Linked DNA regions of Homo sapiens: region 1 is linked to region 2. The links are contacts of gene promoters, found by promoter capture Hi-C in human tissues and cell types (Jung and others, 2019). All regions are on one chromosome and are shown on one strand. The core of a region is centred on a gene start or on the middle of the fragment in contact, and the rest is flanking DNA. Distances in the headings are between cores, read along the strand shown. Region 1 overlaps GPRC6A (G protein-coupled receptor class C group 6 member A). Region 2 holds the start of FAM162B (family with sequence similarity 162 member B).

Region 1 (4,175 bases), core at 788-3,287, 46 kb after region 2:
AGTGTCATAGATTTCATACCCCAGTTTGACTCCAGGTAAGAGTGTTGAATTGTTGATCATCTCAATGCTGTGTATCATGGCAAGAGTTTGAAGAAAAACTGATATTTCAAAGCTGTTGGGAAACAAGTATTTTTTGAAATCAGAACATAACTCTTCTATGGACATGGCTGTATCTCATTTTGCCTACATCTCCTCATAGCAATTTCTGGATGAGTGAAGCTTATCTCTTAAATGATCTAAATTTTATTTAAAAACAATTTTTCATGATAATATTTATGAAGGGTAATATAAGAACCCACAGTTTCTTAAAAGGAGTCTATGCTACAGGATTTAACCTTTTCTTGGTGAATTTTTTGATCATTTTGAACACTGCAATATGAAGATGTGTTTGATTTTTGTTCCTTTTTGTAGTTAGAGATCAGCATTTTATTGCTGTCAAAATGCTTGCTTTTTAGACTCATAAGCCTGTCTTTTAGTTTTCTGATTCTAGTCTGTGTGATTGGAAACCAGATAAATAAGACTCTTAAGAATTACATTTAAACAGCTTTGGTTAAAGCTTAACAGCCTGCTCCTAGATAAAGTGTCTTATTTTAGTTCTGAGACATAGCTATTTCCACATTCAGAGTACATTTTTTATACATCTTGATTTGTGATTATTCCAGAGCACTGAGTTGTCTGATTACAGATTTACTGTTAAGTTTATTTCATCCACCACTATATACAAGTTATTACAAATAGTGCCTAATATATAATAAGGGTTCAATACACATTTTTAAAATGAATAAAGGGGGATATTATTGTTCAGGGTTTGATATTCTAGTTTCTTTTTAGTTCATTAAGTTTTGATAATTAAGCTATTTGAATATTACTATTTGTCATTGTGAACCATGTTTAGATGGTTCTATCTCTACAAATGCATCTCTTACTATGTTTCCTTCTGCTTCACTGATATAGCCAGATTAAATTTTTTGCTATTCTTTGGACATTCCAATTTTGCACTTGTTGCTTCTTGGCCAGATACTCTTCTCCCCTCCCTAAAAGAATAAAGTAAATAATAATAAAAATATATTAGTAAGTTAAACTATTTGAAGATTACTATTTGTCATTGTGAACCATGGCTTGCAATGACAAATAGTAATATTCAAATAGCTTAATTTATCAAAACATAATGAACTAAAAAGAAAGTATATCAAAACCCTGAACAATAATATCCCTCTTTATTAAAATTTTAAATTTAATTAAGAAATTTTAATTTAATTAAAATTTTAATTTTAACATTACAATTTCAATTAAAAAAGAGAAGTAAGCCCAGCTCATCATTGGCACAACCAACATTAGCCAGCACCACTCAGGACTTAGAGGGTCATCCTGTCACTGCCGTTGCCATCATGCATGCCACACAAGTGTCCCAAGAACCCAAGAAATCACCAACCTGCTGGTTCCATGGCTTCCACTATCAGTATTTGAGTAAGGCACCTGGAGGCCCAAGAATTGGCCTGGTTTGACCTAACACTGGTGCCAGTGTATACTGCCCTGGGACACAATGATGGGCATACTTAGCCCATTGCTAACACCACTTGGGCTCAGAGACTGGCTTACTTGGCATCCCAGTCACCAGCAAAACTGCATCATAGCTCCCATTAATAACTGTACCTAGGCCACTGAGGAAATGTCAGATGGCACTTATGCCAGTCATGGCCAAAAAAATCAAAGAAACTACACTACTACTGCAACCAGAATAAAAGCCAAAGGACCCTGCCCAACCAACACTATCTATTCATCCTTAGGAAACATTCTCCCCCTACAAAAACAAATTTTTAAAAATTGGAAGAAGCAACTGAAACATCAGATGTATATATATTAACATAAGAACACAGGAAACATGAAAAAGCCAGGAAAATGACACTTTTAAAGGAAGATATACTATCATACTGGTCTTTAAGAAAAAAAATGTAAATAAATTTTTTAAAAAAGGAACACAATAATTCTCCAGAAACAGATCTCAATCAAAAAGCAATTAATGAAATTCCAGAAAAAGAATCCAAATTAGATTCTAAAGAAGGATAGTGAGATACAAGATAATTCTGAAAAACAATACAAAGAAATCTGAAAAACAATTCAGGATATGAATGAGAAGTTTACCAAAGACATAGATGTCATAAAAGAATCAAACAGAAATTCTGCAACTGAACAATTCATTGAATGAACAACATAACACATTTGAAAGCTTCAACAATAGATTAGTTCAAGCAGACAAAAGAACCTCTGAACCTGAAGACAGTTCAGGTTCAACTTTTGAAATAACCCAGCCATGAAAATATAAAGGAAAAAAAAAGAATTAAAAAAAGCTAAACAAAGCCTTCATGGTATATGGAACACCATGAAGTGACCAAATATACAAATTATTGATATCCCAGAAGGTAAAGAGATATTGAAATAGTTAAACATATATAACAAAATAATAGATAAAAACTTTCCACATCCAGCAAGAGGTTTAGACATCCAGATACAGGAGGCCCAGCAATCCCTAAACAGATACAATGCACAAATTCTCCACAGCACATTATAGTCAAAATGTCTAAAGTCAATGACAAAGAGAGAATTCTAAAAACAGTGAGAAAAGAATTTAGTCACCTCTAAAGGAAATCCCATTATACTAACAGAGGATATCTCAGCAGAAACCTTATAGGCCAGAAGAGAATGAGATGATATATTTAAAGTGTTGAGGAAAAAACCCTGCCAGCCAAGGATACTATATCCAGAAAACTTATCCTTCATAAATAGAGGAGAAATAAAGTTGTTCCTAGAGAAGCAAAAGCGGAGGGAATTCAGCACCACTAGACTGGCCCTAAAATGCTCAAGGGAGTTCTATACTTGGAAGTGAAATGATGATGCTTATCATGGTGAAAACACAAGAAAGTGTAAAACAATGGTAAAAAAGAGGAAGGACTCAAATGATACTACTGTAGATATTCATCTACCAAACCACAATGACAAAAAATGAGAAAAAGAAAACAACATAGAATATATAAAACAAACGGTAAGCAAGAACATGACAGGAACAAAGCCTCATATGTCAACATTAACCTTGGATTTAAAAGGATTAAATTCCCCTCTTAAGAGACATAGACTGGCTGTCAATATTATACTAAATGGGCAAAAACTGGAAGCATTCCCTTTGAAAACTGGCACAAGACAAGGATGCCCTCTCTCACCACTCCTATTCAACATAGTGTTGGAAGTTCTGGCCAGGGCAATCAGGCAAGATAAAGAAATAAACGGTATTCAATTAGGAAATGAGGAAGTTAAATTGTCCCTGTTGGCAGATGACATGACTGTATGTTTAGAAAACCCCATCATCTCAGCCAAAAATCTCCTTAAGCTGATAAGCAACTTCAGCAAAGTCTCAGAATACAAAATCAATGTGCAAAAATCACAAGCATTCCTATACACCAATAACAGACAAACAGAGAGACAAATCATGAGTGAACTCCCATTCACAATTGCTTCAAAGATAATAAAATACCTAGGAATCCAACTTACAAGGGATGTGAAGGACCTCTTCAAGGAGAACTACAAACCACTGCTCAATGAAATAAAAGAAGACACAAACAAATGGAAGAATATTCCATGCTCATGGATAGAAGCATCAATATCATGAAAATGGCCATACTACCCAAGGTAATTTATAGATTCAATGCCATCCCCATCAAGCTACCAATGACTTTCTTCACAGAATTGGAAAAACTTACTTTAAAGTTCATATGGAACCAAAAAAGAGCCCACATTGCCAAGATAATCCTAAGCAAAAAGAACAAAGCTGGAGGCATTGTGCTACCTGACTTCAAACTATACTACAAGGCTACAGTAACCAAAACAGCATGGTACTGGTACCAAAAAGGAGATATAGACCAATGGAACAGAACAGCGGCCTCAGGAATAATACTACACATCTACAATCATCTGATCTTTGATAAATCTGATAAAAATAAGAAACAGGGAAGGGATTCCCTGTTTAATAAATGGTGCTGGGAAAGCTGGCTAGCCATATGCAGAAAGCTGAAACCGGATCCCTTCCTTACACCTTATACAAAAGTTAATTCAAGATGGATTAAAGACTTAAATGTTATACCTAAAACCATAAAAACCCTAGAAGAAAACCTAGGCAGTACCAT
Region 2 (3,820 bases), core at 684-3,183:
TTTTTTTTACTTCTTTGGCATTTATAGTATTAAATTTTCAGGCATCAATTAAAATTTGATAACCAGAGCTTATGATGATAAAGACTTTTCTGAGGCTAACTTTTGCTTTCAGCTAAGTCTGTAGTTTGGAGTCTATAGATCTCGAGGAAAAATAATCTTAGAAAGTGCCTCTGTAGTTGAATAAATACTGAAAACGGATTCAAATGCAGTGTTATTTCAAATTCCATGTCCATTTCTCATTTGGTGACTTGCTCCAATAAAAGAACGAAAATGCTTCAGAATTCATTACTGAGTGTACATTTCCTGCCATGTTCTCCCACCCCACCCCCTAGCTATCTGAGATGCTTTGGTAACTGATAAACTGCAATTGTTTATAAACAATAACATGGCAGGCACCATGTGAAAAACAGAAATATAGGCCCAGTTTCCATTATCCATTCTAATAGGCATTCATTACATTGTACAAATATACAGAATATCTAAAATCCTTCTTTCACGTTATGGTTTTAGTCTTTTATTTTTAAAAGATAAACTTAAAAAGTAGTAGATTGATTTTATTTTTAGTTTCCGTCCCTCTCTTTTTTACCCAATCCCTTGTAAAAATGCTGCGAAGGTTTTTGGGCTTGGCAGAAACAGAAACTTTGGAAAGATTTTTTTACAGGTTACATTTACTTATTATTAGCATTTATTTTACAGGTTACATTACCTTAGAGGGGGAGTTATTAGTTTGAGTTTTATCATCTGTCTTGGTGGGTTTAGCATGCTGAAGAGGCCCACAGTGCTGACACTCCCGCGCGTCCCACCCTGAGTAAACCCGGAGCCTAGAGGGCTGCAGAAACACGTCCGCCAGGCGTCTCCTGCCCCAGAAGAGGAGGCCGCATGGATGCGTCTTTTTTCCAGAGACCCCCCCGCCACAGCCGCCCCGCAAGCCAAGATCAGAGAACCCCTTCCTTGGGTGGGGTAGGGGGACGCCCCCGGCCAAAGCCTGGATTGCGGTCTGGCGTCCCGGCAGCCATCCGGATGCTCGCGAGGACCGTGGCCTGTTTGGCACAAGAGCCCCACTGCCTCCCAGTTCGGAGCTTGCTGGGGACCGGCAATCTGGGCGGTGCTGGAAGTGTCCCCTGAACCTCTCAGTTTTCACCCACCTTCTGCAATCTCCCTGTAAGCTTAATTGACTCTTGACACACCGCACTGGAGGCGGGGTGTGTGTGTGGGTAAACTCCGTGTGTGGTGGGTGATATTGCGAAGTGTTGGCACTGCGGCCGCTTTCGCTCCTAGGTGGCCGCGGTCGGAAGGTGGGTCACCCCGCACCCTTGCGGCCGGGGACCGACTCTCCTTCGCGCGGCGGTCGCCACACTTACGGGATCCGAGGCGGGATCTCCTCCATCGATTTGAAACGCCCTGTCCACAGCAGGATTTTCTTGTCGAACTGCGAAGGCCTGCGCTGCGTGGGGACTCGGTGAATCTCCCCTGCAGCGAAAGCAACCCAGATGGACGCGGGAACTGACGCACCGGCACAGAGGATCAGCGCGCCCTCAAGCCGACTCCCGGGCCGGCCCCTCGCTGCCCTCCCGCAACCTCCTCCCTCCCAGGACCTCCCCGTCGGAGCCCTGGCTCACCGTGACCTTGGGGCCCAGAATTGCTGGGGGCCCCGCCGCTGGAGTAGCAGGGGAGACCCCGGGGCGGAAGAGCCGGTGCGGGCCGTCGCGTGGCCTCGAGAGGCGCCCCGGGGCCGCAGCGGACTGTTAGCCCGCGGCCAAGGCGCAGTAGGCTCCCGACCGCCCTGAGCATGCTGCCCGCTTGTCCCGCGCCGCACCCGCACCTCCGGACCCAGCCACAGGCGTTGTCCCCGCAGCTCTCCTCGTCCCGCCCCGGCCTGCCGCGCGCTGGAGAGCCTGGGACGTGCAGCTGGAACCCCTGGCGCTCGCACACTCAGCTCGCTATCCCCGTCTCCGCCCCCGGCCAGCGACCCGGGATCAGGGCGTCAAGCCCCGAGGGGCTGGTTCCTCAGGAAGCAGCCTGCCTCTGTTTGAAACAGGCTCACCACCGCCTGAGGCAGTGCGTGTAGCTCCTTTTAAATTCTTTGTATTGAGTAGAAATGTATTCCCGCCAGGCTTTTAGCCTTTGATTCCATCGTTTGTTCCCCAGGAGAATAAATCTAAATCCTCTCTTCCAGGAAGAGACAACAATCCTTCAAGTGCAGGAAACTGAAGACATTTCCCAATTAAGTGTTAAGGGCACTCCACTAACTTCTGGATGAGATTTCTTGAAGTTAGCTCCTCACCTCATCGTCTCCCACCCCCATACCTTTTCTCTTTCCTACGGAAAACAATCTCAATTCCTCCAAGTGCCTTTCTCTATCTTTTCTTCTTCTTTTCAGAGACAGTCTCTGGCTCTGTCACTCAGGCTAAAGTGCAGTGGCATGCTGATAGCTCATTGTAACGTCGAACTCCTGGACTCAAGTAGTCCTCCCACCTTAGCCTCCAGAGTAGCTAGGGCTTTGGTCGTGCGCCAGCACGCTCCGCTATTTTTTTTTTTTTTAAGAGATGGGATCTCACTATGTTGTCCAGACTGGTCTCCAACTCCTGGCCTCAAGCTATCAGCTGGGCTCTGCCTCCCAAAGCACTGGGATTACACGTATGAGCCGCCATGCCAGCTTCCTACCTCTTCATCTCTTAGCCCACAAACTCTCCACACTCCCTTCAAAATGTGCCTTTCTTCTGTCACCTTCCACCATCTCCTCTATGCTAAAAGGTAAAAGAATCTACTATTTTCAGGCATTAAATGGTAACAGGGATTCAGATTCAATGATTGGAGAGAAGGGTTGTACAAGCAATTTACTTATCTTGTTCCACAGACAACAGACCTCCTGCCAAGTCAAAGTGCTCATCAGCCCAGCACCAGGCCGAGCTCACCCTCCTCTGCTATTACTGCCTGTGAGTTTCCCTCCTTATCTAGACACTGCTTTGCACTTGTTGGATTTCTAGATATTTTGCTTCCTAACTAGACTGTCAGGCTCTTGAAAGCTATAACTTTTCTGTAACTGCCAGCTCAGTTTTTTTTTCTTTTTACATAACCGTGTTAAACAAAAAAAGAGGGGTTAATAGCTCTGTGAAGACATACATTTAGAGGAGCGCTTGCAGAAGGAACATGGGCTTTGCCTTCACACCTAGGTTTAAATCCCGGATTTGTGACTTAAAAGTTGCACAATCATGAGCAGTAAATCATTTAAGTTATAAGTCTTGGTCTCTTTTGTAAAACCAGAATTCCTATCTTTTAGGTTTATTCATGCAATGACTACCAGTAACCAGCTACGTGCCAGCTACCTCTCAGAGCTGGGGATGGAGCAGTGATGACATCAGGTGAAGATGAAGAAAAATAAAACAAGGTGAAAAAGAATAAGCAGGAGTAGAGTGAGAAGATATTTAGAAACCATGGTTAGCAATGTCCTTCTAAATGTGCCTGGTGTGTAATAATACTTCAGAAGATAATGATTTCTTTCCCCGTCACATTCTTTAGTCCCAAAACACAAGGGCATTTTAATTTATGAAATCTCCTGTGGGGAACTAGGAGCTCCCTGACCTTCAGGAGTTGTGATTATATTCCCAAGATATAGCTGAAAAATTGGCACTTAGTAGATATTTAATAAGTATTTGTTAAATAAATGAATAGATGAATACAAGTCTTCGAAAACAGAATAGTCTGCACCTAGGCTAGTTTACGAAAAGACTGAGATGCTTGAGGACATTCTATGTCCTTTTAAACTTCATACTTTCAGTGTCTATCATGTTGCTTACCACATAGCGGTCTCCAAATAAGT

The links. The method cuts DNA at HindIII sites, captures the fragments that hold promoters and counts their contacts. A contact is called where the count stands out against the background at its distance.
Region 1: a contact is called between a fragment that was not itself captured here and the fragment with the promoter of FAM162B in region 2, in 3 of the 25 tissues and cell types used here (heart left ventricle, heart right ventricle and thymus).

What each region holds. Positions count from the first base shown.
Region 1 is chr6:116,809,506-116,813,680 of GRCh38, forward strand. GPRC6A (G protein-coupled receptor class C group 6 member A) reads right to left here. Exons shown (of 6, transcript NM_148963.4): 2 at 1-112. Among named protein-coding and RNA genes, the nearest start is that of GPRC6A, 17 kb to the right of the region's middle. The HindIII fragment of the contact is 5,660 bases long and covers 1-4,175 here.
Region 2 is chr6:116,763,786-116,767,605 of GRCh38, forward strand. It overlaps FAM162B (family with sequence similarity 162 member B), which reads right to left and starts at 1,934. Exons shown (of 4, transcript NM_001085480.3): 1 at 1,620-1,934; 2 at 1,362-1,470. The coding sequence starts at 1,791. LOC105377963 (a long non-coding RNA gene) reads left to right here and starts at 2,583. Exons shown (of 3, transcript XR_942910.3): 1 at 2,583-2,754; 2 at 2,858-2,936; 3 at 3,281-3,820. RefSeq lists an enhancer at 955-1,469. The HindIII fragment of the contact is 7,101 bases long and covers 1-3,820 here.